Regions from separate parts of the Homo sapiens genome. Here all the other regions are linked to region 1. The links are contacts of gene promoters, found by promoter capture Hi-C in blood cells and fetal thymus (Javierre and others, 2016). All regions are on one chromosome and are shown on one strand. The core of a region is centred on a gene start or on the middle of the fragment in contact, and the rest is flanking DNA. Distances in the headings are between cores, read along the strand shown. Region 1 holds the start of TMEM109 (transmembrane protein 109). Region 2 overlaps CD5 (CD5 molecule). Region 3 overlaps LOC105369325 (a long non-coding RNA gene). Region 4 overlaps LINC02954 (long intergenic non-protein coding RNA 2954). Region 5 overlaps LOC105369325 (a long non-coding RNA gene).

Region 1 (2,821 bases), core at 230-2,729:
CAACAGGGGTGCCCCGTTTACTCAGCCCGCTGCTCTCAACTCCTCATGGGAGGGAGTACGCAAGTGAACAAGGCGGGAACTGGAGTGCACAAGCGCTGGAACAAGCCAGCCGTTTTTCAGCACCAGTGGGATCACACTCCACTCACTCAAGATTCACCGCGTTCCACCCCTCATAGGAGGGAGCGTGCAGGTGAGTGGGTGCAGGAGCCAGAGCGTGCGCTTTTGGACACCGGCAGGAGCGAACTCCGTGCAGGCCCCGGGGCAGTGTCCAGGCAGAGTGCCTGAGGCTCCTGAAGCCCCAGAGGGCATGTTACAGTGTTCTTTTGGCTCTGTCGTCCGTGGACAGCTTAAGTGTTAACAGCTCCGTGGGCCCGCGGTTGCCCTCCACCAGCAAGGGCAGAGGGCCAGCGTGACAGCTTTTGTATCCGCACTCGTGGCTCCCGAGCTCTTGTCCAGCGTCCAAGAAAAATAAAGCTGCACGAACAAATTAAAGGACAAATGCCTGGGATTTTATTGCTGATCAAAGTGGATTTCAGAGGGAAGGTGAGCTGAAAAGAGGGGGGTGGGACAGGCCGGTATGTAGTCTTCCCTTGAAGTCCAGCTATCTCCAGCCAGATTCGTCTCAGAAGTTACGCCTTAAGCTGTCCCTCTGAAGACAAGCTGCTTCTCTCTGACATCCAGCCATGGTCGTCCCCTCATCCAGCTGCTTCTCCTCTCTGCCAGATGAGTCTGGGGTCTTTCTAGGCACAGGATGAGGCAGGGCAGAGCCATGGGTGGCTTAGGAAAAGGCAACATTCAACTGGAAAAACATGGATAGAAGTTCTCACTTTGGGCCATGGTTTCAGGCTTTTTGGCTTGAGGGTGGGGTTTCACCAGGGACCCGCTCTTTTCTACCTAGCATTTATCTGCCTCCTGTCCCTATGCACTGCCTTTGTGGCAGAAAAAGGAGAGTGAGAGTTGGTTCCTCTCTTTCTCTGAAATTCTGAGCTAACATTTGGGAGCCGTCTACAGTATTCAGGTATGAATTTTCTCTCTGGGGGAGCGCATTCGTTTTCCTAGAGCAGTGTGCTTTTAATTGCTCCTTTAATATCTTTCTCTTTTGTGCCTTTTTAGCGCGAAAAGTGTATGGGAAGACTAGGTGCTCGTTAGCGGCTCGGTTAGAACTACATTGCCCACAATGCCCCAGGGAACATTTGTAGCTCTAGAACTACATGACCCAAAATGCCGAGTGGTGGCAAGAGGAGGATTAGCTTCCACTCCGATTTCAAAGATCCAGTTTACCCACTCTACAGCCCAGATATAGTCACTTATTTCCCCTTTCCAGCCAGAGACTTCCGTTCCCTGCTGGAACTTCCGATCCCATTCTTCTCTCGGTGGGAATGCTTGTGGGGGGAAAAAGAAACGCAATAGATAAAGCGGGGCGCATGCGCTCCCGGCACAGGCTTCGATTGTGAGGAAGGCCGGCTAGTCTCCGAGCTCATCCCGCCTTGCGCATGCGGAGAAGGTAAACCAGCGCCCCGAGTTGAGGCGCGGGTTTGGTGGCGCGTTTCAGCGAAGTCGCACGTGAAGGATAGCAGTGGCCTGAGAAAGGTGAGAGCGGGCCGAGGTCGGAATGTGGGGCAGCGCACGGGAAGGGGAGACAGCAGCCGCTGCAGGCGGCACCAGGCGGAGCCGCGAGGCCTGGAGAGTCCGAGTGGGGAGGGGTCCGCGCGCCCAGCGTGCGAAACAAACCGGGGACCCGGATCCCCGTTGCTATGCAACCGGGGGCGTCGTTTCCAGGCAACCCGGGAGGCGCACGTTTCCGGGGAGAAGAGGGTTGCGGCGAGGTTCCGAGGTCCGGCAGAGGTGGAGCGGCTCCCGGGCGTGGGGACCAGGCCAGCGCCAAGCCCGAGCCCCCGAACCCCGACCCACGGCCCAGCCTCCTGCAGCCTCGGCTCGAGCCCTTCGGGGGGCCCCAAACTCATGGGTCGCGCCACGTTCCTTGCCAGCGACGCTACCCCTCAGCGCTTGGCAGGGGACGCGCCGTTCGAAATAGCACATGCCACTGACACCCTGTCTCCGGGAGGCTGCGCCCCGGTTAGGGCGCGGAGCGGCAGGGAAGCTGCCCCTTTGCCGTCGCCCTGCCCCCAAACAGTTGCTGGGCAGCAGCTGTCAGGGGTTTAGTGGGAGCTGCCCCCAACCTGCCAGGGCGCTGACTTCATTCTCTGCAGTGGCGGCTTCGCCTTGTTTAGGACCTTCCTTTAGACTCAGCTGTGCTTCTCGTGTGGCTGCTGTATATTTGGATCTACTATTAAAATAACCTCCCTCCTCACCTCTCCATGGCTTTCTCGTTCGACCCTCACGGTTTCTTGGCAGGTTGCTAATATTCATTTAATAAACATTTATTAGTCATCTTTCCTACTAGGCGCTGGGGATTCCAACATGTCAAGTCTAACCGGGAGTCGCTCGGTCTACTGGGGAAGGCAGGTTGATAAACTGCTAAATTATGCTACGATATATAGTCAGTGGTAATGTGTGTGCTGCAACATTTCTATAGATGTTTAGTTTACAAAGCGCTTGCTGCAGAAATATCTTAACTCCTTACAGCAACTCTTCACCTGGGTTCACTCCCTTTTACGTTTGAGGAGACTGCAACTCAGGCAGGTTAAGTAACAGGCGTAAGGTAGTAGCTTCTAGTCCGTGGCACACTTGAGCCTGGGACGGAAGTCAGGGGTCCTTTGTACACTGCTGCACTTTTGAAGCTTTGCTTAGACTTTTCCCTGAGCTGCTGGCTATGCATCCGAAATTCCTGAGGAGCTTTGCAAAACAAAGGGCTGAGTCC
Region 2 (2,821 bases), core at 86-2,585, 200 kb after region 1:
AACTGATCACGCTAGGTGGTGAATACAGAGGTTAAGCTTTGAAGCCACGTGAGCTTGCTACTTCACCTCGTCCCCACCCAAATTAAACCTCTTCCCCAGCCACAGATGAGCTGCTCTGCTGAGAGCCCCGCAATGGGCAACTTTGCCCCCACTCCACAGTGAGACCAGGCTACAAGGAGGCAGAGCTTCCACGTGGTCCACATGGGGGAAGGCTGGTTCCCTGCAGACCCGTGTTCCCTGGGCCTGTCGCCTTGGCTCCCTTGTCAACTAGCTGGCTACACTACTGTGGGCAGGTCACGCCATCTCTTTGAGCTTGGTCTTCTCCAGAAATGGGCAGCTGTTAAAGATAAGTGGCTGTCATTCTTATCCTGCCTTGGGAATGCTAGAAAGTAGCAAATGTTCTCTTGGTTCCCTTTCTTGCTCATTTCTTTCTTTCCTTTTTTTTTTCTTGTAAAGACAGAATCTCACTCTCTCACCCAGTCTGGAGTATAGTGGTGCAATCTCAGCTCACTGCAGCCTCCACCTCCCAGGTTCAAGCAATTCTCCTGCCTCAGCCTCCAGAGGAGCTGGGATTACAGGCATGCATCACCACGCCGAGCTAATTTTTGTTATTTTTAGTAGAGACAGGGTTTCACCATATTGGCTAGGCCAGTCTCAAACTCCTGACCTCAAGTGATCCCCCCACCTCGGCCTCCCAAAGTGCTTGGATTATAGGCATGGGCCACCGTGCCCGGCCCCTTTCTGGATCATTTCTCCATTCTCTAGAACTAAGGAGCTCAAACTTTTTTGAGTGGAAACATGCGGGACATTTTTACATTGCAACCCCCAACACACAAAAAGTGATCAGTGCATTCTGACATTCTCTTTTTTATTTATTTAAAACAAAACAAACAAAAAAAAACAGGGTCTTACTCTGTCACCCAGCTAGAGTGCTGTGGCATAATCATAGCTCACTGCAGGGTCCAACTTCTGGGCTCAAGCGGTCCTCCCACCTTGGCCCCCTTAAGTGCTGGGATTGCAGTCATAAGCCACCGTGCACGGCCTCTCTATTCTACTCCATTTCATTTTTAAAAAAATTGATGGCCTGAGTGCTGTGGCTCACACATGTGAATCCCAGCACTTCAGGAAGCTGATGCACGAGGATCACTTGAGCCCAGGAGTTCAAAACCAGCCTGGACAACATAGTGAGACCCCATCTCTACATACACACACACATACATGCATACATACATACATACACACATACATAGTAAAAAAATTAGCCAGGCATAGTGGCTCATGCCTGTAATCCTAGCTACTCAAGAGGCTGAGGTGGGAGGATTCTTTGAGCCAGGGAGGTTGAGGCTGCAGTGAGCTGTGATCATGCCACTGCACTCCAGCCTGGGTGAGGAGAGTGATATCCTGTCTCAAAAAGTAATAATAATAATAATTGATGGTTACATTATTACAAAGGTTAGCATGAGGGAATTTGAGGTAGGGAGTAATGGAACTGGTGTATACCTTGATTGTGATGGTGGTCACACACATCTATATATGTGACATTCACGGAATCATGCAGTAAAGAAAAATCAATTTCACGTCTGTTCATTTTAAAAGTAACGTTTTTTAAGAAGAAAAAAAATCGATAGTTGCAGCCCACTAGATAGAATTCATATCACTCAGGGGTTCCAACCTGGAGTATGAAAATTCCTGTCCCTAAAACCCATGATAGTGGATAGGGGGAGGCAGAAAGGGCCATTGCTCGGGCTGTGGGTGGGTGAGCTGGGGAGAAGGGAGAGAGTGGGAGGTTTCACTTCCTGACCCTCCTCTCTTCTTTCTGCAGTCGCTTCCTGCCTCGGACGGCTCAGCTGGTATGACCCAGGTAAGGAAGAGCCACATGGAGAAAGGCCTGGGGCAGGGGGAGAGTGGGGCTGTGGTTTCATCAGGCCATCGGGGACCTCTCGATGAAGCCATCACTTCTGCCAGAGTGAACCCCACCCTATAGAGAGAGTGAACCCCAGCATACACACAGGCACATAGATGCAGACACTGCACATTAAGATGCTCACATGCAGGTGGGTGCCCTCGACAGCCGTAAATCACCCACAAATGCCAGATCTCATGATAATTATTATGACCCGCTCACCATGCACAGAAGACATCCCAGCTCATAAATGTACCTTGCAAAGTCTTATTTCCCACCCAATCCTGACAGATGCTCCATGGTCAAAGATGTTTAGAGCGGAGTCTGCAGAGAGAGGCCGCAGACTGATGGTAAAGTGTGTGGAACGTCCAGCCTTAGACGTTGGAGTTTAGTCGTAGAGGCTGTTTCCCAAATAGGGTTCCATGGAGCATGTTGGACAAAGGGCAGGCAACACCGCATCTCCCACTGAAGACTGACAGTGTACACCGGCCCAGTAAAGGATCTGAGAAATCCTGCAGCGAAGAAATACATGACACTTTTTAACCCAGCACTTTGCACCCTTATTTCACCACAGACCTCTCCTTCACATTGACTGGGATAACATCGTGCTGAATGTACCTGGGGAGAATTGTGGCTGAAGGGTCTTGAGATGCCACTGTGCAGCCAGAGGGGGTGACAGGGGCCTTGGCAGGCCCTAAGCACGATCTGGGCCCTGCACTGACATCCTAGCTCCAAGCTTTGGCACACTGCTTGACCTCTTGAGCCCGTTTCCCCAGCTGTGAAATGGGAAGAAAATCTCTTGCCTGGTGAAGCGGCAACGAGCCAGCTCGCTGGGCGGACAGCCTGCAAATCACCCCACCAATGTTAGGTGTTGAGACGCGCTCGTTCTCCCTCTAACCAGCCAAGTGCCCTTGGCGA
Region 3 (2,821 bases), core at 193-2,692, 170 kb after region 1:
AAAAGTGGGCGAAGGACATGAACAGACACTTCTCAAAAGAAGACATTTATGCAGCCAAAAAACACATGAAGAAATGCTCATCATCACTGGCCATCAGAGAAATGCAAATCAAAACCACTATGAGATATCATCTCACACCAGTTAGAATGGCAATCATTAAAAAGTCAGGAAACAACAGGTGCTGGAGAGGATGCGGAGAAATAGGAACACTTTTACACTGTTGGTGGGACTGTAAACTAGTTCAACCATTGTGGAAGTCAGTGTGGCGATTCCTCAGGGATCTAGAACTAGAAATACCATTTGACCCAGCCATCCCATTACTGGGTATATACCCAAATGAGTATAAATCATGCTGCTATAAAGACACATGCACACGTATGTTTATTGCGGCACTATTCACAATAGCAAAGACTTGGAACCAACCCAAATGTCCAACAATGATAGACTGGATTAAGAAAATGTGGCACATATACACCATGGAATACTATGCAGCCATAAAAAATGATGAGTTCATATCCTTTGTAGGGACATGGATGAAATTGGAAACCATCATTCTCAGTAAACTATCGCAAGAACAAAAAACCAAACACCGCATATTCTCACTCATAGGTGGGAATTGAACAATGAGATCACATGGACACAGGAAGGGGAATATCACACTCTGGGGACTGTGGTGGGGTCGGGGGAGGGGGGAGGGATAGCATTGGGAGATATACCTAATGCTAGATGACACATTAGTGGGTGCAGCGCACCAGCATGGCACATGTATACATATGTAACTAACCTGCACAATGTGCACATGTACCCTAAAACTTAGAGTATAATAAAAAAAAAAAAAAAAAAAGAATAAAATCTAAATTTCTTAAAAAAAAAAAAAATAAAAAAAATAAAAAATAAAAATTAGCCAGACGTGGTGGTGCACACCTGTAATCCCAGCTGCTCGGGAGGCTGATGCAGGAGACTCATTTGAACCTGGGAGGCAGAAGCTGCAGTGAGCCAAGATGGCACCACTGCACTCCAGCCTGGGTGACAGACTCTTGTCTCAAAATAATAAATAAATAAAATAAAGTTCAAAGAAAAGGCAAAGCCAATCTATGATGACAGAAGTCAGGACAGTGGATACTTGGGTAGGGAGCAGTGCGGGGCAGTGGGGAGCCTCCCAGGTGCTGGTTACACCAGCACGTGCAGTGTGTGAAGTTACATTTATAACACACTGCATGTACTGTGCTGTGTGTATCCCATATATAAGTAAAAAGTTGTTGTTGTTTTAAATTAAGCATCTGGGTTCCAGCCCAGCTTTACCACCTGGATGGTGTATAATCTCAGGCTAATTAAACTCTCTGAGTATCTACTCACTCTTCTGCAAAATAGAATAAAAATGATATCTGCCCCAAATGCTTCCAAATGTCAATGATTCAAAATTTCCATTCACGTTTACCTTATCCAAGTACCAAATATTATTTTTACTTAATATTTTTCCTTTAAATCAACTCACTAGTTAATCTAAAAATGAAATGTATAAACCATGAATCTGGTGAGCTAGTTATCTATTTTCAGTATATAAATTAATATAAAGTAAAACAAACACATTATTAAGATAAAAATGTTCATCTGTGAGCCACCTCAAGTCATCCTCCACATCAGTGAAGGTGGTATGTATATATTAACTCTGTCACCCAGGTTGGAGTGCAGTGGCATGATCACAGCTCACTGCAGCCTCAACCTCCTGGGCTCAAGCAATCCTCCCATCTCTGCCTCCCAAGTGGCTGGGACTACAGGCACACACCACCATGCCTGGATAATTTTTTTTTAATTTTTTTATAGAGACAGGGTTTCACCGTGTTGCCCAGGCTGGTCTTTAACTCCTGGGCTCAAGTGATTCTCCTGCCTCGGCCTCCCAAAGTGCTGGGATTACAGGCACGAGCCACTACGCCCGGCCAAGGTGTCATACTCACTCTGGGGAAAAAAACTAAGATAATGTAATTACATAGAGTCCCTAGCACTGTGTAAGCCCTTAGTAAATGGTAGCTATTATCACCACCATCATCATCATCATCGACTTCATCAACATTACTGACATCATCATCACCATCATCTTCATCATTTCATCATCACCATCAGCATCATTACTGCCATTATCATCATTCTCATCATTGACATGATCATCACTATCATCATCACCACATATAACACCAATAAGTATTTGTTTCCAGATCATCCCACAGGGTCAACCCAACATGGCCCTGGCCTCAGAAGAGCTTACAGAATTAGGAACATATAACCCATGCTGAAGTGTTGGGGCTTGCTGGGACACATATCGAGGTGAGCGCTCCACATCGGTGTGGATGGGGTAGAAGTTGTTGAGCTATGCCCTCCCACCCTCCACACCAGACCAGAACCGACTCTCTCCAGATTGCCTTGGGGACCTGCCTCTTGCCACAGGCCAAGGCTGACTGCACCTGGACCCATCCCCTCATCTCTCAGAACTTCAGTCTCCTCATCTCTGAAACAAGGCTGGTGACCTCAGCTCCTCCAAACCTCCCAGCAATGGGCAAAGGGAAGGACCCGCCATCAAAGACAAACAGAAGTCACTCGAGGAATGTCCTGGACATTCAGTAAATGATCACAAACATGTCTCACTTTTATATCAAATTTGTCCCCCAAGGTGGAGTCCTGGACACTCACTAATGATCACAAACATGTCTTATTCTTATATCAAACCTGTCCCTCGAGGTGGACCTGGACCTCTTCCACACTGACAGTCACAGGGCACCTAGAGTGCCCATCATGGAACAGAAAAATCCTGATCCCTAAAGTAGTT
Region 4 (2,821 bases), core at 157-2,656, 150 kb after region 1:
AGCTGAAGAGGCCAGGCACAGAAGAGTCCATACGCTGCAATTCAAAACACTACTTACGGAAAGCTGGAGAACAGACCCATAGTGAGAGACCAGAACAGTGCTTAGCTCTTGGTGGGAGGGGGCGGCTGATAGGAGAGGCTCTAGGGAACCTTAATGGGGGATGAAAATGTTCTAGATCTTGAGCTGGGTGGAGGTTACACGGTGTATGTGTGTGTGGGTGTGTGGGCGTGTGTGTGCATGCAATATATATAAAAAAAGTTTTACATTTTTAAAAATCATTAACAGTGTTTACACTTCTTTTTCAGAGCTAACCTTACATATGCTTGATCAAATGACGAAAAGCTTCAGCCAGAAACAGTTTTGCCTGGGTTCTGAATCTTCCCTGAGCTCTTAAATTCTACCCAGTGAGCATCTAGGTTAAAACCTGGATAAAACCTGGATAAAAGATTAAAAAACTCAACCAAGTTTCCAAGTTCTTGTACTGCTTGGCTCTGTGTAGATCCGAGTTAACAAACAGGTTTCAATCCACATACCAGATCTGATGGTATGAAGCACTGATTATGGCTGGGCACAGTGGCTCATGCCTATAATCCCAACACTTTGGGAGGCCCAGGCAGGAGGATAGCTTGAAATAGGAGACTGGGGCCCTTGCAAACCCACTGAACTTCCTGGTGGTCACAGTGGACAGTCAGCCTGGGGAATAAGTCTCTCTGTGAAAAATGCAATGAACACAAGGCCCCTTTCCATGGCCTGTGCTTGGAACCAGCAAAGGAGTCGGCCATTCTGCATCCTGAGCACAGACAGAGGAGCTGTGGGTGACAGATGGTGCCTGCCAGGAGCAGGGATGCATGAGTCTCAGGTCAATGACAGATGTGGCTGGAGCCCAGTGTGGAGGCCCCAGGCTCCAGCGTGACCTAGTTTTCGAGATTGATGGGGCTGGCGTTGATGGCCTCCCGTGCACTCTCCTCTGTTCAGTGGGGGGCAGAGAGAACCCAAAACAGCAACGCCCTCCCCCAGCCCACACTTAGACAACAGGTGACTACGAAAGGAAGGCAGGAGGGGAGGTGGGGAGGGGAATGGCAGGCGGGCCAAGTTGGGTGGGCTCCGGGGCAGATATGTCTGCCTCTCTTCTCTGAGGCACGACTGAGGGGCAGAGAAAGGCCAGGCAGTGGCAGTGACTTCACGTGCGCTGCTGCCAACGACCCCCATCCCTCCCAATCCACCGTGGTAACACCAATATGTTCCCAGCTTGGATCTCTCTCTCTCTCTCTTTCTCCCCACCCACCTTGGGCCCCAGACTCATACCCAGCCCTGTCTGCTCAGCATCTCCACTTGGGTGTCCGAGAGCATCTCAAGTGTCATATGGCCAAAAGCAAACTCCTGACCATCCCTATCTCAAGACAGGGCTTCTCCATCCTTCCAGGTGCTCTGGCCAAAAACTGTGGTGTCACCTGTGACTCCTCTTTCTCTCACATCCCAGCTGCAATCCAGCCAGAAATCCTATGGGTTCTGCCTTCGAGATGTAGTCAGACTCTGGCCACCTCCCACCCCCTCCACTGCGACCGCCCTGATCCTGGCCACCGTCCTCTCTGCCTCCTCACCTGCCTTCCTGCTTCCTGCCCTCATTCCCTTCCGGGTGTTCTCCCTGCTGGATGTGGAGTGATCCCATGTAAAAGGCACCCATGACGTCTCCCACCTCACAGCCTACTGCTCTACCTGCTCACACCACTTGGGTCACGCTGGCCATCGGACACACTGGACAGCCTCAGGGCCTTTGCTGGTCCTGGGCTGGAAGGCTCTTCCCCTGGAGAGCCCTCAACTCCCTTCCTCGCCTTGGGTGGAGCCTTCCTGGACAGCCCTATTTAAATCGCCACCCCTCCCTCCCCCTTCCCCCTTCTCTTCTCCTGTTTTAGTCTCTTCCGTAGCATTTATTGCCACTGGACACACAATATATTTTTACTTATTTATTTTGTTCATTGTCAGTTGCCCCAGGTTAGACTGTAAGGAGCATGAGGGCAGGAAAGTTTGGGGTCTGTTTTGTTCTTGCCATGTCTCCCAACACCAAGGACAGTGCCTCGTGCATAGCAGGCACCTAGTAAGTTATTGAATAAGTGAATGAATCAGGATCAGTGACCTCCCTCTGGAACCACAGGCTTGACAGCAAAGCTCTCCCCCTTTCTTCTGGCCCCTCAGTGCCCCCCTCAGGGCAGAACTCCAGGTACCCAGTGTGTCTCCAGCAGGTCCCTGTGTCCCCTTAGTGGTGGGAACAAGAGATCCATCAGTTCCAAGCCTCAAGATGCCTCTTGCCTCCTTCATCATCTGTCTCCCTCACATCTGCCCTGCCTTTGACAATGTACAAATAGCTTTGAAGCCCTGTAAGGTTTCAGCATCCTTGTTGCGTAGGCTGGGAGAGCCAGGCAACAGCCCAAAGACACACAGCTTAGAAGGGAGGAGAACACCCATCCTGACAGCAAGCTTGGTCATTGCTCAGATTCACCCTGTCCCTACCACCTGCTTCCTCCAGGCCAGCACTGCAAGCCAATCGTGATGACAACGACGGTGCTGGATGGAGGACAGACAAAACCAGTGAGGCTCTTGCAACAGGGGAAAATGAGTCCACCAGCAACAAGAAGACTGGGACTGGGGAGGGGGTGCAGAAGGGATTAAAGGGTTCAAGGGGGCCTGGGAGGACAGAAGGGGATTCTGTTTGGGTTCCCCTCAACCAACCTAAAGCAGATTCTGCTGAAAACACAGGAGGCAATAATACCCTGAGCTTTTTAAGTGCATGTCCCCATGACCCCATAGCCCTACACCTAGAGGT
Region 5 (2,821 bases), core at 206-2,705, 130 kb after region 1:
GTCAGCTGGAAGGGATGCCAAGGTCAGGAAGCCAATATGATATGATGCCCACAGCACCCCAGAGCTCTGCACCAGCCTCCAGGTTGCCAGGCGTGCTCAAAGATGATTCATTAATTAGTAAGTATTTTTAAAAGACAGTCATCACGTCCATGAGATCGGGGTCAAATAGGCACTCCCTTGTGCTTCAGGTTGGAATGTAAATTGAGAGACAGCTTTTAAAAGCAACTGGAAAATGCGTACCGAGGGCTTTAACAATGCCTGCGCTTTTGACCAGGAGACCCACATTTAGAAACTGCCAAGAAAACAGTGTAGACAAACATATACGCACAAAGATGTCCTCTACTATATAAGGAAAAACTAGAATGAGATGTCTAACATCTAGGAAACCCATCTGGTAAATGCCGGTATCTAGATCTAAGAGAATTTCATGCAGTTTTCAGAAGGGATTCTTCTTACAAAATCCCAGCAAGATGTACAGCAAACAAGCCTAGGAGGGCTGCCCACGATGCTCTGAATGGTAGATTTGGATGGGATTCTTTTTTCTCTTTCTAGTTTTTAAAATAGTTTTCCAAGTTTTGTGCCATAAACATGTATTTCCTTGATAATTTTTTTGAAACCTATTTTAAATGAGCAATTAACATGTTTAAAAATTAATATAGGCCAGGTGCGGTGGCTCACGCCTGTAATCCCAGCACTTTGGGAGGCCGAGGCAGGCGGATCATGAGGTCAGGAGATCAAGACCATCCTGGCTAAAACGGTGAAACCCCGTCTCTACTAAAAATACAAAAAAAAAATTGCCCGGGCGTGGTGGTGGGCGCCTGTAGTCCCAGCTACTCGGGAGCCTGAGGCGGGAGAATGGTGTGAACCTGGGAGGCGGAGCTTGCAGTGAGCCGAGATGGCACCACTGCACTCCAGCCTGGGCGACTGAGTGAGACTCCGTCTCAAAAAAAAAAAACATTAATGTAACTTTTTATTATAACAAATCCACACTCATAGAAAGGAAACAAGAAAAAAAAAGGCTAAACACTGCACAAAATCTCTAAAGAAGGTAAAAATAATCTGGAATCCTACCACCTGGAGATAACCACCTCTATACATACACATACCTATATGTAGACACACATACAGAGACACATGCATGTTATTTGCAAATTGCTTCTTTTCCTCATCAATATGTCATGGACATCCTTCCACAGCAATAAAAGTCCATCAACCTCATTCTTTCTTAATGGTCCATGTGAAAATATTTCCACCCATACATCTTGTCTTATGGACGTACCATTATTTATTTAACCAATGCTCTATTGATGCACCTTGAAGTTGTTTGCAATATTTCACTTAATCATTAACATACCAATAAATGATATGGACTGCGGGAGTCAGCCTCTGCTGTAGTGTTAATATTCTACTGTGAATTCACTATTCAGGTCAGGGCATCAGTTTCGTCCCTTGTAAGACAAGGACATGGCGATTCCTGAGGTGCCTCCAGCTGTAGTATTCTCTGATTTCCTGCAGTGGCAGCTGGTTTCTCAAGAATATGAAGTGCTCAATGTAATTTAGAGCAATCTGCACAGCTAAGAATAGGGATCCTCTCTAAAATGATACTGTGGAAGCCCTCAAATTACCACCAGACTTCAACAGTACATATTTCCCGATCTGCAGGGTGACTGGAAGGTGGCTTCTGATGCCAACTTGGGCTACAATCATGCTGGAATGCAGCTCTGTCTTCAGTCAGGCCAGTAGCATTCAAAGAAGCACAACTGTGCAGCCATCTGCCTTTCTCCCAGTGGTCGAGTTCTCTTTTTCTACAGACTGCTCTCAGAGTTCTGCCCATTTTCTTTACCTGCACTTTTCCTTGAACCTCAAACATACATACATATTAGGATGCCTTGAGCTCGGTGTTTGCTCTGCAGCAAATCTCTCAATAATCCACCTGCTATCAGCATCACACCCCTGACAAATGCTCCTAATGGGCCTCTTCCCAGAAAAGAGCTTTTGATGTTGCATAGCAAGCATGAGAGTGAGATTCAACCAGGCAGACTGGCTTTATCCAACCACAGTAACAACAAACCTTAACTGGGCACCTACTATGTGCCAGGCACACTTCACTTTTGCACATCACTTCATTTCTGAAGACTGGCCAGTTTCTGAAGGCAGTTAGGAAAAACCCTTGTTGAGAATTCCAGCTTTAAAAAGTGCCTCTGACTCTAGAAACCAGGTTTAGAAAAGCCAGTCCTCTGATGCATAAATCCCCGCTACAACAGTAATCGCACCTAGCAGCTTGTATCATTCACAAGCATTCACTTGCTTTGGCCCTGAAGAGCTGCTTTTACTGACTTGTGCTTTGGGGCAGACCTTCAGGAATTGAGGGATTTTGTGGGAAACAGCATGATGAAACTTGCTGTTTGTTGCTCATAAAGATGACGAGAATGTCTTTTGAGACAGTAGAGAGGGTCCTCAAGCCTCTGGGTTTGCCTCTTTGCCTTGGCCACCAGGAAGCTCAGAATCAAACCAGTGTCCCACCACCTACAACATGAACAGACCTTTTGATATGATGCATCATGTGGATAACTTTCTCATCAATTCATCTTTTCACCCGTGCTTTCCTATCACACAGAGTTCTCTGGGTTATTTTTCATCCTGCTCCGTTTTGTGTACTGTTGCCTCATACTTATGGTGAATGGGAAGGGAAATAAATGTTACAAGTCAGAGACAGGACAAAAGACTGGCCCCCTAGCTCCCAGCCCTTTCCCCCACCTTTGATGATTGGGCCACCTGAAGAGGGGTGTCACTTTGATGGGCTGATCCGAGTCACCCCCAG

The links. Contacts are between HindIII fragments. The CHiCAGO score rates a contact against its expected background, and 5 or more counts as called.
Region 2: a fragment that was not itself captured here is called in contact with the fragment with the promoter of TMEM109 in region 1 in 7 of 17 cell types (total CD4 T cells, activated CD4 T cells, naive CD4 T cells and 4 more); the score reaches 12.2 in total CD4 T cells.
Region 3: a contact is called between a fragment that was not itself captured here and the fragment with the promoter of TMEM109 in region 1, in 7 of 17 cell types (activated CD4 T cells, total CD4 T cells, total CD8 T cells and 4 more). The highest score is 7.1, in activated CD4 T cells.
Region 4: a fragment that was not itself captured here is called in contact with the fragment with the promoter of TMEM109 in region 1 in 7 of 17 cell types (total B cells, non-activated CD4 T cells, total CD8 T cells and 4 more); the score reaches 8.9 in total B cells.
Region 5: a contact is called between a fragment that was not itself captured here and the fragment with the promoter of TMEM109 in region 1, in 4 of 17 cell types (total CD8 T cells, activated CD4 T cells, naive CD8 T cells and 1 more). The highest score is 7.0, in total CD8 T cells.

Annotation. Positions count from the first base shown.
Region 1 is chr11:60,912,679-60,915,499 of GRCh38, forward strand. TMEM109 (transmembrane protein 109) reads left to right here and starts at 1,480. Exons shown (of 4, transcript NM_024092.3): 1 at 1,480-1,590. It overlaps TMEM109-DT (TMEM109 divergent transcript), which reads right to left and starts at 1,385. Exons shown (of 2, transcript NR_186356.1): 1 at 1,282-1,385; 2 at 488-799. RefSeq lists enhancers at 1-717, 1,716-2,714, 2,109-2,278 and a silencer at 1,769-1,928. The HindIII fragment of the contact is 3,992 bases long and covers 1-2,739 here.
Region 2 is chr11:61,113,234-61,116,054 of GRCh38, forward strand. CD5 (CD5 molecule) reads left to right here. Exons shown (of 11, transcript NM_014207.4): 2 at 1,823-1,861. Among named protein-coding and RNA genes, the nearest start is that of CD5, 12 kb to the left of the region's middle. The HindIII fragment of the contact is 2,603 bases long and covers 35-2,637 here.
Region 3 is chr11:61,085,533-61,088,353 of GRCh38, forward strand. All of the region lies in intron 1 of LOC105369325 (a long non-coding RNA gene), which reads right to left. Among named protein-coding and RNA genes, the nearest start is that of CD5, 16 kb to the right of the region's middle. The HindIII fragment of the contact is 5,909 bases long and covers 1-2,821 here.
Region 4 is chr11:61,067,126-61,069,946 of GRCh38, forward strand. It overlaps LINC02954 (long intergenic non-protein coding RNA 2954), which reads left to right. Exons shown (of 4, transcript NR_186234.1): 4 at 306-472. The region is part of intron 1 of LOC105369325 (a long non-coding RNA gene); the gene reads right to left. Among named protein-coding and RNA genes, the nearest start is that of LINC02954, 13 kb to the left of the region's middle. The HindIII fragment of the contact is 2,133 bases long and covers 341-2,473 here.
Region 5 is chr11:61,045,363-61,048,183 of GRCh38, forward strand. The region is part of intron 1 of LOC105369325 (a long non-coding RNA gene); the gene reads right to left. Among named protein-coding and RNA genes, the nearest start is that of LINC02954, 8.6 kb to the right of the region's middle. The HindIII fragment of the contact is 3,449 bases long and covers 1-2,821 here.